Regions from separate parts of the Homo sapiens genome. Here regions 2 and 3 are each linked to region 1. The links are contacts of gene promoters, found by promoter capture Hi-C in blood cells and fetal thymus (Javierre and others, 2016). All regions are on one chromosome and are shown on one strand. The core of a region is centred on a gene start or on the middle of the fragment in contact, and the rest is flanking DNA. Distances in the headings are between cores, read along the strand shown.

What was found. The method cuts DNA at HindIII sites, captures the fragments that hold promoters and counts their contacts. A CHiCAGO score of 5 or more calls a contact.
Region 2: a contact is called between the fragment with the promoter of BHLHE23 here and the fragment with the promoter of RPS21 in region 1, in 5 of 17 cell types (non-activated CD4 T cells, total CD4 T cells, activated CD4 T cells and 2 more). The highest score is 8.5, in non-activated CD4 T cells.
Region 3: the fragment with the promoter of SLC17A9 here is called in contact with the fragment with the promoter of RPS21 in region 1 in 1 of 17 cell types (neutrophils); the score reaches 5.8 in neutrophils.

Annotation. Positions count from the first base shown.
Region 1 is chr20:62,383,336-62,388,352 of GRCh38, reverse strand. It overlaps RPS21 (ribosomal protein S21), which reads right to left and starts at 1,250. Exons shown (of 6, transcript NM_001024.4): 1 at 1,217-1,250; 2 at 965-1,032; 3 at 679-742; 4 at 439-510; 5 at 1-44. The coding sequence starts at 1,014. RPS21-DT (RPS21 divergent transcript) reads left to right here and starts at 1,364. Exons shown (of 1, transcript NR_186459.1): 1 at 1,364-2,050. RefSeq lists enhancers at 401-1,092, 1,093-1,784, 2,063-2,112 and silencers at 973-1,162, 1,593-1,712. The HindIII fragment of the contact is 6,470 bases long and covers 1-5,017 here.
Region 2 is chr20:63,004,011-63,009,027 of GRCh38, reverse strand. It overlaps BHLHE23 (basic helix-loop-helix family member e23), which reads left to right and starts at 2,064. Exons shown (of 1, transcript NM_080606.4): 1 at 2,064-3,101. The coding sequence starts at 2,254. The coding sequence ends at 2,979. RefSeq lists enhancers at 11-80, 932-1,639, 1,640-2,345, 4,670-5,017. The HindIII fragment of the contact is 10,733 bases long and covers 1-5,017 here.
Region 3 is chr20:62,949,300-62,954,316 of GRCh38, reverse strand. SLC17A9 (solute carrier family 17 member 9) reads right to left here and starts at 1,608. Exons shown (of 13, transcript NM_022082.4): 1 at 1,428-1,608. The coding sequence starts at 1,486. RefSeq lists silencers at 1,388-1,487, 1,498-1,817 and an enhancer at 1,369-2,198. The HindIII fragment of the contact is 6,510 bases long and covers 1-5,017 here.

The DNA of each region.
Region 1 (5,017 bases), core at 1-2,500:
CCATCGGCCTTGGCCAATCGGAGAATGGAATCATCTGACTCACCCTTAAGAAAAAAAAAAAAGCACACTAAGAATATTTCCACTCCGGCTGCCTGAGATGGCAGAAGGTCAGCTGTGCCACCAGCCCACGTCTCTCCCCCGCTGAGCGAATGGAGACAGGCGCAGAAGGGGAGCCACCTCTCCCGGGGCAGCCTGCAGCCTGACTATGGTGGAGCGGGGTCGGGGGGGCACCTCCTAGTGAGAGGCAGAGTCTGCTGCCTGAGTGTCTTCTCAGAGCACCCCTCTTCCACCCTCAAGAAGCGGCAGGCGGCCAGCCCAGTCCAGCTGGCTCAAACTACTCTGCCAGCAGATCTACTCAGGCACCATCACACACTCCAATGCGCACGGTAAAGTCCACGATGTCCCGAAGTGATGAGCAAAGCCCAGGGAAACACTCACCATCCTACGAATGGCCCCGCAGATAGCATAAGTTTTAAACTGGCCATTAAACCTGCCTGTGACCTTGTCAACCTAGAAAGAGAAGAAGGGTCACAAACCACTCCCCCAGGTTTGGGAAACACCAATCCTCAAAGCCAGCCTCTGCCTGTACCTTCACCCCAGGGGCTCCTCCACAATGGGACAGCCTGCCTTTCCCGCACATATATCACAACCTTCCCGCCTCCCGGGCTCCCAGCTCACCTCGGCCACGTTCATCTGGATGGATGCGTGGTCCTTGGCACCGATGATGCGATTGCTAGCGGAGCTGTGGAGAAAGGGCGCAGTGAGCAGAGGGGACTTGGGCGGTAAGAATGAAAGAGGGGACGAGGGAGGTTGGGGGTATATGAATGGAAAAGAGTAACGTCGGGGGCAGGACAAGTTAGGGACGTGACGAGGTAAGGACGGGAGGGGTGTGGGGGAACAAGGGCAGGCGAGGGGACGTGGTGGTTAGGTAAGGACGGAAGAGAGGCATGTGGGGGGCGCTTACCATTTCCGCGGCACGTACAGGTCCACGAACTCGCCGGCGTCGTTCTGCATTTCGAGGCTGGGCTGCGCCTGGGGAGTCACCGCGCGGCGCCGTGAGTACGGCCGGAACCGTGCCCCGGCTCCCGGCGCAAACCGGCCCCTAGGGTCACGGCCCCAGCCGCACCCAGCACCCCGCACCCCGTCCCCCGCGTCCAAGCCCCCACTCCCGCCCCAGCCCCAGCCCTGAGCCCGAAGCCCGCGCCGCGCGCCACACCTGCTGCCACCACACCGCGCGCGAGAGAGAAAGGAAGCAGCTAGTCACCCGGCAGAGATATCGGCGGGCAAGGAGGGGCCTCGGCGAGCGCTTCCGGGTCACGCCACCACAGCGAGTCTGCGCGGTGCGTGCTTGCCGGCCGTCGCCGTGACGCACTTCCGCTTCCGGCAAGGAGGTTCTCGGACCCCAGCCTGCTGGCCCTGGGGCGCGGGGCGTCGTGGGGGTCGTTGTCGTTGAGGGTCGTTGCCGTGTGTGGCGTCTTAGCCTGGCCCCTGGGTTGTGCCCCACGGACGCAGTCGACCCCTCTGAGCGCCTCGGGAGCCCCGAATAGCAGCTGGGAGAAGGGGCGAGGACTGAGCCTCGCTGCCCGCTGCCGGCCGGGCTAGAGATACGGGCGTGCCCCCCATTGTGCGCCTCCCGCCCTCCGGTCCCCTCACCCTGCGGCCACCTGGGGCGTGGGGCGGTGCTCCTGCCCGTGCACGTAGCCGCTGCGAGCGGAGGCCTGCTCACCTGGTGCCTGCTACTCACTCCCCCGGGCCGGTGGGCGAAGGACACCCGCAGGAACTCGGCAGAGGAGAAATTCAGACGGCTCCCGAGGGTAGGAAAAGACCCCGGCCCACCGTGGAATCTGAAACACCCGACCACTCTGCCATCCCATGTTTCACCAGTCAGACCCCCAGGGCAGGGCAGGGGAAGCAGAATGCAAACTGGGGCACCGTTTCCCTGAAGCGTGTTGGCCGCGTTTGTCGTAGTGCTAGAGGTGCATACCCTTGGACCCCGAAAACCCATTCCTGGGAATTTGCTCCAAGGAAGTAAAGATGTTACAAAGATGGACCCACGAAGTATGGTCGTTGGTTATGGGTGGGGTCTTGAGGAAGGCCTTGTTAGTAGCCTGAACCCTGTTGCCAGGAGAAGCTCCAAACCGGTAGACGGAGGGAGCAGCGCGGCCTATGTTGGGGTCTTCTCTGGGCGGGGGACATGATCCTAGGATGTAGAACTAGCCTCAGAAAACTTAAGACTCAGTGGCCAGGTGCGGTGGCTCAGGCCTGTAATCCCAGCGCTTTGGGCGGAGGTGGGTGGATCACCTGAGGTCAGGAGTTCGAGACCCGTCTGGCCAACATGGTGAAACCCCATCTCTACTAAAAATACAAAAAATTAGCTGGGCGTGGTGGCAGGCGCCTGTAGTCCCAGCTACTCGGAAGGCTGAGGCAGGAGAATGGCGTGAACCCGGGAGGCGGAGCTTGTAGTGAGCTGAGATCCCGCCACTGCACTCCAGCCTGGGCGACAGAGCAAGACTGCGTCTCAAAAAAAAAAAGTTTTTTTATGTTTAATTTTTTGGGTACATAGTGGGTGTGTACATTTATGGGGCACATGAGATATTTTCATACCGGCATGCAGTGCGTAGTAATCACATGGGGTATATGGAGCATCCATCACCTCAAGCATTTATCCTTTGCGTTACAAATAATCCAATACTATACTCTTTTAGTCATTTTAAAATGTGCAATTAAATCATTATTGACTGTAGACACCCTGTTGTGCTATCAAACACTAGGTCTTATTCTTTCTGTCTTTTTATACCCATTAACCATCCCCATTTGCCCCCCTCCTCCCACTGTTCTACCCTTCCCAGCCTCTGGTAACCATCTTTCTACTGTCTGTCTCCACAAATTCAATTGTTTTAATTTTTAGCTCCCACAAATAATAGTGCTGTGATAAACATCGTAGCACATGTATCTCTTCCTTTCTTTCTTTTTTTTTTGAGACAAAGTCTCGCTCTGTCACCCAGGCTGGAGTGCAGTGGTGCGATCTCGGCTCACTGCAACTTCTGCCCCCAGAGTTCAAGTGATTCTCCTGCCTCAGCCTCCTCAGTAGCTGGGACTACAGGCATGAGCCACCACACCCGGCCAGGTATCTCTTTCATATACTGATTTCCTTTCTTTTGGGTATATGCCCAGCAGTGGGATTGCTTTATTTATGGCAGCTCTATTCTTAGTTTTTGTTTGTTTGTTTGTTTGTTTGTTTGTTTGTTTGAGACGGAGTCTTGCTCTGTCTCCCAGGCTGGAGTGCAGTGGTGCGGTCTTGGCTCACTGCAACCTCCACCTCCCAGGTTCAAGCGATTCTCCTGCCTCAGCCTCCAGAGTAGCTGGGATTACAGGGGTCTGCTACCACGCCTGGCTAATTTTTGTATTTTTAGTAGAGATGGGGTTTCACCATGTTGGCCAGGCTGGTCTTTAACTCCTGACCTCGTGATCTGCCCGCCTTGGCCTCCCAAAGTGCTGGGATTACAGGCGTGAGCCACTACACCTGGCCTACCAAACATTTTTTAAAGAACTAATACCAATCCTACTGAAACTATTCCAAAAAATAGAGGAGGAGGGAATGCTTCCAATCATTTTATGAGGCCGGTATTATCCTGATACCCAAATCAGACAAAGACACATCAAAAAAAGCAGATTAGAGGCCAGGAGTGATGGCTCATGCCTGTAACCCTAGCACTGTGGGAGGCTGAGGCAGGCAATTGCTTGACCTCAGGAGTCTGAGGCCAGCCAGCCTGGGCAACATGGTGAAACCCCTCTACAAAAAAATTTAAAAATTGGCCGGATGTAGTGGTGTGTGTCTGTAGTCTCAGATGCTCAGGAGGCCGAGGTGGGAGGATCAGTTGAGCCAGGAGGTGGAGGCTACAATGAGCCATGATCATGCCACAGAACTCCAGCCTGGGTGACAGGAGACCCAGAAAAAAAAAGAGAGAGAAAGGAAGGAAAGAAAGAAAGCCACAGACTGGCAGAAAATATTTTCAAAACCTGTATCTGATAAAAGACCTGTATCCAGGCTGGGTGCAGTGGCTCACTCCTGTAATCCCAGCACTTTGGGAAGCCAAGGCGGGTGGGTCACCTGAGGTCAGGAGTTGGAGACCAACCTGGCCAACATGGCAAAACCCTGTCTGTACTAAAAATACAAAAATTAGCTGGGCCTGATGGTGCACGCCTGTAATCCCAGCTACTGGAGAGGCTGAGGCAGGAGAATCACTTGAACCCGTTGGGCAGAGGTTGCAGTGAGCCGAGATCTCGCCACTGCACTCTAGCCCGGGCGACAGAGCGAGACTCCGTCTCAAAAAAAAAAAAAAAAAGGAAAGAAAACATATGTCCATTCGGAGACTGGTACTGAAATGTTCATCGAGGCTTTATGTGTCATAGCCAAAAATGGAAACAATCCACACATACACCAACAGGCAGATGGATAAATAATGGTACGTCCCCCTCGAAAGACAGCATACTGTGTGATTTTATTTGTATAAACTCTAGAAAATGCAAACCAATCAAAACTGACAGGAATCATGTTGGTGGTTGCCTGGGGTGGGGTGGTGAGCAAGTGGGATTACAGACGCACACAGGAAACGCAGGGAGTGATGGGAGGTATATGCTGTCTTGATGATGGGATTACAGACACACACAGGAAACGCGGGGAGTGATGGGAGGTATATGCTGTCTTGATGATGGCAATGGTTTCACAGTTGCATATAAAAGTCAAAACATTGGCCAGGTGCGGTGGCTCATGCCTGTAATCCCAGCACTTTGGGAGGCCAAGGCAGGTGGATCACAAGGTCAGGAGATCGAGATCATCCTGGCTAACATGGTGAAACCCCGTCTCTACTAAAAATACAAAAAATTAGCCGGGCATGGTGGCGGGCTCCTGTAGTCCCAGCTACTCAGGAGGCTGAGGCAGGAGAATGGCGTGAACCTGGGAGGCGGAGGTTTGCAGTGAGCTCAGATCACGCCACTGCACTCCAGCCTGGGCGAC
Region 2 (5,017 bases), core at 815-3,314, 620 kb before region 1:
CTGGCTCCCTGCTGGGGAGTTCGGACCTCCCAAAGCCCCGGCCCAGCCCCAACCCCAGCCCCATGGCGTCAGCGTCTCTGGCTTTAATGGGGACCCTGCTCCAGCCGATGCTTTGAAAGCCACTCTCACCCACACCCGTGATGTCAATTACCGCGTACCCCTCAGAGGCCTCCCCACCAGCGCTGGCTGCACCTCCCCTCGGGGGCCTCCTGCATTCTCCAGCTCCATAGCTTTCCCTCCTGGTCAACCCCATCCTCCTGCTCCCCCAGCTCCGGGGACCTGTGGAGCCACCTTCCCCCATGGCCCCCACCAGCCCTGCAGTTCAGGCCCAGGAGGAGGCCCCGCAGCCCCGGACCGCACCGGCAGCAGTGCCAGAGTGGCTCTCCGAATGGCCACGGCGCCTTTCTTCCCATAAAGACCAAACTCCCCGCGTGATTCAAACTGTCCCACAGGCCTGGTCCCGCCCCTCTATCTCCTGGCCCCACCCGGGCCCCTCACTGCCCTTCCCTGTGCCAGGCCTCCTCCGGCCACCTGAATGCTCCCCCGACCCCGGCCCGTGGCCACAATGACACCCACTCACCCTTCAGACCCAGGCCCAAACACAGCGGCCTCCTCCACACCAGGTATCCTCAATTCCCGGTCTGTGCATCAGCCCCGAAGGCGGGGTGGGGTCCCAGGACAGCGCCTCAGACAGACGCTTCCATCCTCGGGGCCCCTGCGCTCCTGGCGGGCGTGTGCTGGGGGTGAGGCCGGTGCTGCAGGACGCGCAGCCAGACAGGCCGCCAGCCCGGCAGAGGCTGCCTCAGACCCATTCCCCTCCGCCAGGACAAAGGCCTGAGTTTCCCACGGAGACTTATCCATGCATCTGTCTCCTCACACCCCGCACCTGGCAGGGAACCACCGGACAGGCCGGTCACTGCTGCGTTCCCAGAACCTTCCAGACAGCACATCCGCCCCACACACGTGCAGCTCCCACTCCCCTCCCGGGGCTGCGCACACTGCCCCATCGCTGTGGCTCCTCCTGGGGCGGAGCCTGGAGAACAGGGAGGGTATGCGGCCCTTCCCAGGTCACACAGAAGGGCCCGACGGGCCGCTCCACCTCGTGCCATAGGCCAGGGTGGCCCAGTCTCCCACCCAAGCCAGGACCGGAGAAGCCACTATCCCTCAGCACACTCTAGCCTCAGCACTCGGCCGGGCCTCCAGGCAGGTTCCCACCTGGGAGAAGGGCTGGGGTTCTGGCCTTCATGCGGGGTTGGAAGAGGACTGAAAAGGCGAGTCCGAGGCTGGCCACATTCCCATCCAGTGTGGCTGGACCCCAGGGGTTCGGAGGCTCCGGGAAAGCCCACCAAGCCTCACGCGTTTCGCTGATAGATGCCCAGGAAGCGGCTGGCAGGGAAGAGGCGGTCCTGCAGCTCACAGAGCTCCCCTCCCACCCCCGGGGAGCCCCAGGCCGCGCTGCCCTCCACCTTCCCGCCCTCCCCGGCCTGCAACGCTCGTGGCGTTTTTCAACAGGTTCTAGAAACTCCCTCTCACTCTGCCCCTCAAGCCTGGCCACAGGGCGCCCCGAGCAGGGAGTGTGCGGGCTCCGGGTACACGCTGCGCCGCGGCTGCACCAGAGCGCCCACGACCCTGACCCCGACCCGAAGCGGCCCCTCAGCGGGACAGGGTGTTGGCGCTGGCGCTGCTGCTATTGCGGCGCGCCCCCCCGCTCTGGCCCCTGCGTGTCGCCAGGGACTCTTGCGCTAGGGTCAGACTCAAAGACGGACCGAGGCGGGTGCCCACCTGGGACGCGTGCGTTTGGTGGCGGAATCCCCGGGGCGGCCGGAGGCGGCGGCCGGGGAGTCGAGAAGCAAGTACTAGCGCTCCAGGACCGCGCGCGCCGCCCCGCGCCGCCCCGCGCCGCCCCTCGGTCCAGAGCCCCCACCCCCGGCCTGTGAGCCTGCGGCGCTGGTGGAGCCCGGCTCCAGGAAGAGGAGCTCACCCGGTCCCCCCTGATTGGACAGCAGCGAGGTCCCACCGGGCGCCTCCGCGGCTTAAAACCGAAGCGGGGGCGAGGGGGAGGTAGAGCCCGCCCCCTGCGCGTCGCGGCTGGGAGGGAGAGGAGGTGGGAGAGAAGGAAGAGGCGGAGGAGGCAGCGGGCGCCGAGGCTCTGGGACCCGCAGGCAAGCCAGACCGACGCGCAGAGCCGGGAGCCTCATCGCAGCGGCAGCGGCAGCGGCGGGCTCGGGCCGGCCTCGGGGGCTGCTCACCCACATGAGCATCCGCCCACCCGGCGAGCCCCCGAGCCCAGGCGGCGCGGCCATGGCCGAGCTCAAGTCGCTGTCGGGGGACGCGTACCTGGCACTAAGCCACGGCTACGCGGCGGCGGCTGCGGGTCTCGCCTACGGGGCGGCGCGAGAACCCGAAGCGGCCCGCGGCTACGGCACTCCGGGCCCGGGCGGCGACCTCCCCGCGGCGCCTGCACCTCGCGCCCCAGCTCAGGCGGCGGAGAGCAGCGGCGAACAGAGCGGGGACGAGGACGACGCCTTCGAGCAGCGGCGGCGGCGGCGCGGGCCAGGGAGCGCGGCGGACGGGCGGCGGCGGCCGCGAGAGCAGCGGTCTCTGCGGCTCAGCATCAACGCGCGCGAGCGGCGGCGCATGCACGACCTAAACGACGCGCTGGACGGGCTGCGAGCCGTCATCCCCTACGCGCACAGCCCGTCGGTGCGCAAGCTCTCCAAGATCGCCACGCTGCTGCTCGCCAAGAACTATATCCTCATGCAGGCGCAGGCCCTGGACGAGATGCGGCGCCTGGTGGCCTTCCTCAACCAGGGCCAGGGCCTGGCCGCGCCCGTAAACGCCGCGCCCTTGACGCCCTTCGGCCAGGCCACTGTGTGCCCCTTCTCCGCAGGCGCCGCCCTGGGGCCCTGCCCTGACAAGTGCGCCGCCTTCTCCGGGACGCCCTCCGCGCTTTGCAAACACTGTCACGAGAAGCCGTGACCGCGCGGGCCCCCGGCCCTCCCGCACGCGTCCTCCGATCGCCCCTGTGACTGTCTCTCTGCCCGGACAGGAAAGGCCTGGAGGGACCCTGCAGACCAGGAGGAGGGGGCCCGACTTCGCTTCCAGCCTGTGCGCGGTGGACAGTTTAGCGCAGCGGGAAGCGCCAAGGCCGTCGGGGCGCGGGATTGAGCTCGAGAGCCGGACGCTGGACTCTGCGCCCGGGAACTCGCGGCACCCACTGGGTATTGTCGGGACCCAGCAAGTCTAGGAACGGGGGTGGGTAGAGCATCCTTCGGGCACTGCCGTTCGTCCCCAAAAGAAGACCACCGCGGGGTCCCAGGGCCACGGCGAGGACGGGCACTGGTCAGATTCCGGACAGGCGGTCCTGGCCCCGGGCGCACGAAAGGTGGAGACGAAGAAAAGCCGGACTTACTGGCTCCTGATCCTCTTGCAGTGGGCCTCGCGCTCCCGCTCCAGCCGGCCCTTCGTGCTAAACTGCAGGGCAGTGCTCTGTTCCTGAGGACGCGCGTGGCCGGCACCTCCCACCTCGGTGACTCCGAGACTCCGCAGCCCTGCGGAGAGCCCACGATGGCCGTCTGCAGAGGAGCTGGACCGCGGGCGCAGGAAGACCCCGGGGAAGGCCTTTTCCAAGTAGGAGTTTGTTCTATTTATTTGGGAATTGGACGCCGTCGCCGGCTGCCTCGAAGTCTGAGGAATTTGTCCCCTAAATGTCCCCTGGCCTCCCCCCCCCGCCGCCATCCGCTGCCTGGGACGTCCGCGGGGTGGAGTTGGATGGAGACCGCTTTGCGGGCCCTCTGCCTCGGGGGGCTGCGTGGAGGAGGGTCCTCACAGCCCGCGCCCTACTTAACCCTGACGGTCAGGGGAGGGCCCCGTCTAGCCCTGGTGTCCAGCAAACCCCCTCCCCACCGATCCCCTCTCCCTTCCGAGGGAGGAGGCCGGGCTACGGGTGAGTAAGCTGCTGCGGGCCCCGTGCCCCGCCGGGTGTGAACGGAGATGCGCTGCGCAGTGCCCGTCCTGCGCAGCTCCCAGCTCTGCCACCATCCGGGATCCAGGGAGCCGGGCAGGGTGCCCCCGGGGACCCATCTGTCCGCGCCGGTTTGCGCCCCGCGGCCCCGCCGCAGTATCCGGCTTTATTAACCCAATTTCCTCGGCTGTCGGTAATGCCAAGGGGAGAGGGCCGCCGCCCTGCAACGCGCCTGTCTACAGCGTTTAACTCTGATTAATACATTCCACAGGGCCTTCTGTACTTGCAAAATCAAGTGTATGGTTAAGTCTTATTCATAAAGACATATGCCTAATACTGGTTTCTGCTAATTTCCACTTTTATTTCTTCATTGTCTTTTTTTTTTCCCCTAACAGACTAGTTTATCAGTTTTGCACATTCGAAAAGCTGAGTGCCAGACACCGTTTTTCCCCTTTTAGATAAAGTGGGAAAGCTGGAAACTCAAATGCCCTTCACTTCTAGGGTCATTTCAACGTGATCTTAAATAAATTACCTGCTTATCAGAATTTGAAACAGGGGTGTTTATTCTGGTTAAAATCAGAGACATTGGTACATCATTTATATTCAGAATAAAGCATTTTATTGCCATTTATTTTATAAAAATAATATGGTTAAATTTTAATATCAAGTGAAATAGTGTTCATTTGTAGCTGAATTCACAATAATTTCAATTTTCAGATACTTGTGTCCACTCGAAACCAGAGTCTGAAGAGTCTCTGAGATGCTAAAACTCATCTAAAAGCAACCACTTATTATAGCACATGTGTGAAATCATAAGGAAAAGGGCAGAGGAAAAAAATCTCTCTTTCTCTCTTTGGGTGGAGAATAAGTTTTTGAAAAAACCACTTCACTAATCAAAAATTCTTCCGATTACTTAATTTAAATAAAAATTCAAGTTACATTTAAACTTTTTTGTACATGACAAAGCTGTGTGTCTACTGTTCTACAAACGTCTGCATGCTTCTCACTTGGCCTGAGTGGAGTGGAGTGTTTCGGAGAATTAGCTCGCCTTCT
Region 3 (5,017 bases), core at 359-2,858, 570 kb before region 1:
TGGCCCAGCCTTTGTGATGTGGCTGCAGGAGGGCGGGCTAGGAAAAGGCGTGCGTGTGGCAGCCTTGACCCACAGGCCCCTCCAGAATCCTTGGCGCTACCCAATAAGGGCCTGCAAAGGAAGTTGAAGAGCTGTGGCAAGGGCTCCTTTTTAAACATCGAGCCTGGGAGGGACGTAGTGAAGGCTGCGGCAAGGGCTCCTTTTTAAACATCGAGCCTGGGAGGGACGTAGTGAAGGCTGCGGCAAGGGCTCCTTTTTAAACATCGAGCCTGGGAGGGACGTAGTGAAGGCGGAGCCACTCAAACCAGCCGCCAGTGAGGAGGCCCTGAATCCCTGGGGAGCTGGCCCTGCCCGGCAGGCCTGGATGAACGTGGGTGGGGGAAGAGGAAGAGAGCAAGGGGCAGGGCCCGCTGAGGGCAGCCCTCCCCTCTAATTGGCGCCTGACAGGGCTGTGATCTGGGCTGCCAGCTTTTCCCATGCAGCCAGCGCTCCCTTCATCTGGGTGCCAACATCCGATGGTGGCACTGCCCCTTTGGGCCTTCCTACAACTCTTCCCAGCACTTCTAGGGTCCTCAGCCCTCATACAGCTGGGAACTGGTGGGGCCAGAAGGTGCCATTACCTTGCCATGGTCAGGGTAGGTACCCTGGGGACTCAGTGCAGGCAGGAGACTGCTCTGGAACCCACAGGGCCTGAGTCTAGGCCCAGGGTCCAGCCACTTAAGGCCTCAGCCCAAGACCCAGAGCCAAGGGGTTCAGCAGTGTGGGGGCTGCTCTCAGGAGCTCCCTGGCAGAGGCCCTCCCCAGCTGACCAATGGCCCGCGGTCACCATCTCGCCCGGTTTCTGAGGCGTCACCTGCCCAGGGAGCCTCCTACAGGCAGCAGTGCTGGTGGCCAGGCGACCTGCCCAGGCCCTGCTTCTCCCCACCACCAAATGCTCCGAGAGCTGAAGCCAGCGGGGAGCTCGTCCTCAGCACACAGCTGGCACGTGGTGGCAGGACCCCCCCCAACCCCGTCCAGCTGCAGGCTCCAGCCCGTGCCCCCTACCTGGCCTCCTGACTGTCCTGGCGCCTGCTTGTCAGGGTCATGCATACACAGGGTGGTTCCACCTGGCGAGGGGTATGCCTCCTGACTGTCCAGGACAATGCCCCTGGCCTGGGGAACATAGCCCTGCCTGGAAGAGCCCCAGGAACACTGGCTGGGATAGGGCACTTGCCAGGTCCGGTCCTGGAATCTCATGGCAGGGAGGAAGGACAGGGCACTCACTTCCTTCCACCTCCCACAAGGAACACAGGGGGCCCCACAGCCAGAGGAGCCCGCCCAGCTCAGCCCTCCCCACCTAGCATCGTCCCACGTGGCAGTATCTCAGCTCCCTCCCCACGGCCCCATCTCCACCGCTCCCACCCCCCCTCCCCTCACCCCCGCCACACCTGGACCACTGGGTGTCCCCGGCCATGTCCCTGCGGGCCTCGTCTGGGGGTGGCTGCATCGGGCTTGGGGTGCTCAGACGGCGTGGGCACAGCTGTGTCCCGGGGCTGCCTCCCAGCCCAGGCTGACCCACCCGGGCAGCACCGCCCAAGTCCACGTGTCAGTCCCAGCGCGCTTCCGTCTGGTTCTCTCAGGACTTGTCGCCCCCAGACGGCCACCAGGGCGGGCAGGCGGGGCAGGGCGGGGCATACCACTCGGGTGCCCGCCCCACCCTGCTGACGTCGGTCCCTGCTGCCCCATAGGAGCGGGGCCAACGGTCGCCCTGGCTGGGTCGCCCTGACTGTCCGACGCGCCCTGGCTCAGCCCCAGCAGAGGTTAGTGTGGGGGCAGAGGGGGATTCCCAGCAGCAGGCCGGTCAGACTGGGGCTTCAGAGAAGGGCCCTGGTGGTAAGCCTGGTCCAAGAGGTGCCAGCCCATCCCTTGGACACGACACGGAGCCATGGGGCCGTCTGTCCTCTGTCTATAAAATGGGGAATGATGGCAGTCCCTGCCTTACCGATCAAATAAAATCAGGGATAAAGTCTTAACCAAGTGCAAAGAGAGTAAAAGTACAGGGTCACTGATTTTTAAAATGGATCTTTCGGGGCAGGGATGGGTCCACTCCTGAGCCCTTGGACCAAGCCTGGGAGAGCTGGACAAATCCAGCGCTGGCCCATGTCTTCTCAGCAGATGCCTGTGAAGGTTGTCATTGGCCCCTGGGTTCCTGGACAAAAGGTGTCCTGAGGACCCATCACAGGCCAGGTTCTGGGCTCGGGGGCAGGGGTGACGGGGTGGGGCCCCCACTCTGTGTGCTCCTGCTGCCATGCCAAGGATGAAGCCAGCAGGGGAAGGCCTCAACCATGCAGCCTTTCCCCAGGAGGCGGCAGGGCCTGCTCCTCAGGCGTTGCCCCCACCTCCACTAGGGCCCACCTCAGTCCATCCTCCACGCAGCAGCCACCACCCAGGGGCCGAGGGAGACACGTCTAAGGCAGGGCCTTGCACTTAGAACAGACCCACATTTACCCCCTCCCTCCCCCTAGCCCTCAGGTCTCCAACAGCCCAACCCACTGCACTGCAGGGCCTGCTCCCAGGGCCCTCTGAACAGAAAGACACGGGCACCCTGAAAAGCAAGGTCATACTTTCATCCATCCTGACGTAGGGTAGGTGAAAAGATGGTGGCAGAGAGAGGTTTATTGCCCCAAACAGCCCTAGCCCATAGCCAGGAAGTTTGGAAACTGTTGCTAAACGTATCGCTGTCAACAGCACCCTCTTTGAGGTGATTCGCTTCCATTCACTCTGTGATGGTGATTTCCTACCGAGATCTGTGATCATGCTGCAGCAGACATTTGCCATCTGGTTACCCAAAGTCCCCTTCCTCCTGGAGCTGATGTTCTGGGGCAGGTAGACAAAAATCAAAGTAGTGAAAGGGGTAGGGAAGGGGTGTTACTTCAAATAGGTTGGGCTGAGGAGGCACCCCTGGACACCTGAGTGAAGGCTGGATGAGCTGAAGAAACGGGCCATGCAGGGATGGCTGGGTGGGTGAAGGGGCCATCTCACAGGGACATTATAAAGCTGGGTGCTGGTAGTGGCCAGATGGAGGCTCTCCACGCTTCTGGTGGATTCTGAGAGCTGCCCCGCACCCAAGCATCTTTGAGGCCTAAGGTGAAAAATTATGTAGGGACAATAGACAGTCAACACCTGGGTTTTCAAGGACACAGGGTGACCTTGCGGACAGGGCAGTCACAGCCAGCACCCACTGGCCTCTGCTTCTGGAAGGCTGCGTGCCTCCCTCTTGTTGGGCCTGGCCCACCTAACTTCTTGTTTATTTCAAGTGCTGCTATAGGGAGACGATGCTAGAGATTTTCCTAAAGCAAATCCACACCTCACTACGTATGGCGCCCGTTGCTCAGCCTCTGCATCCACACCCCCCACAGACGCCCCAGGAGACCCCGCACAGCTTCTTGTAAACCAAGACAAGCCAGCCCTGGGCCTGGGGCTCCTCCCTGCACCCCACTTAGCCCTGCAACCTTCCAGCCCAACTACAATTCTCAAGATGAGGAGTCCATGAAAAGGAGACTGACAGATGACACTTTCCTCTGCCATGACTGACAGGCAGCAGCAAGAGGGAAGACCGCGGTACTGGACATCACGTGCGGGAACTGCCTCAAAGGTGGGGGCACCTTTCGGGCTGAGCTAACCCAGTCAACAGCAGACTGGAAAAAGACAAAGAACTGTGTGAGATGGTGCTCAAAACCAGAAAGATGAACTCTGCAATGACGACAAATGGATTCGGTGTGATGTGGGCGTGATACAGAGAAACATTCTTGAAGGTTCTGGAGCAGTTCATTTTTCTCAGAGCTGGTAAACTCATTGTTCGAATCTTACAAGCACTAGTGTTCAACATTTCTAAAACTGGGAGGGCCCAGTGAGGACTGGATGGGCACACAAATCTATAAACGAGCACAGACGAACCCTGGGCTGCTGTGACCGCCAGCACCTCTTCCCGTTCTTCCATGACCCTCCATGGCAGAGAATTCTTGGTGACGGGTCAGCCTGCTTCACTTTCAAAGCCAGCTGGGAAAATTACCAAAGCTGTCAGTCACACACCGTGATCCACAAGAGGGAGAAAACCTTGTTTGTGTGAGGAACGCCTACAGATGTGTCTCCAGGAAGCAGAAGTCACAGCCAGGCGGAGACCTTGCCTGACACGGGCAGCTCAAGGCAACAGCAGCTCCACCGCTTCTCCCTGGTTCCCAAGCTCATCAATTCCACCTCAAATACACAGAGACCCAAGGACAGGAGGCGCTGCTGCACCCAGCACTCTTCATCTCCGAAGTGAGCCTGCGGGGTGACCAACTGCCTTGCATGGACGGACAGCTGGCGGAAGAGCCTGCAACGTGACCTGCATTTACAAACATGAGGAAACCCACTCACCTTCAGTTGTTACTCCTTTCATGAATTCTTTTGGTTATAGCTGTGCCTATGGCTTTACGGGCTTCACCTGATAAATGGTCTTCTGTACTATGGACAATTTGGACCCGTAAACCTGGCCTTGAACTAGGTGACACTGAAATGTTACAGACAAATCAGAACGTCACATTCCCTTTAAATATTCCCCGCACACATGCACCAGGCTGACTGGTGGATACTGGGGTGTGAAATGAGAGAAACAGCCCCCACTGTGCAGATGTGGGGACATGATTATTATCAATTAACCACAGGCTGCACCTCAGCTCCTGCACACCAGGTGCCTTGTGCCGGTGGCTCTGTAGCATGGGCCTGTTTATCTTCAAAGCCATTTTGTGGCTTCTGGAAAAGGCAAACAAGCTCAGGACATTGTATCTCCAAAGAGCACATCTCTTAAAAGATTCTTGCCATAGCTAGTTACACCAAAGGCCCATTCAAACCCCATGTTCTACTTTAACAGAAGTGAAAAACCACAAGCAAAGATGGCATTCCAAAATAAGGCAGAATATCTAAGACAGGAAGGCCATGTGTGCAAGGATGGTGTGAGCCTCCAGACTGTAGTGTGGGAGCTCACACTGAAGCATTC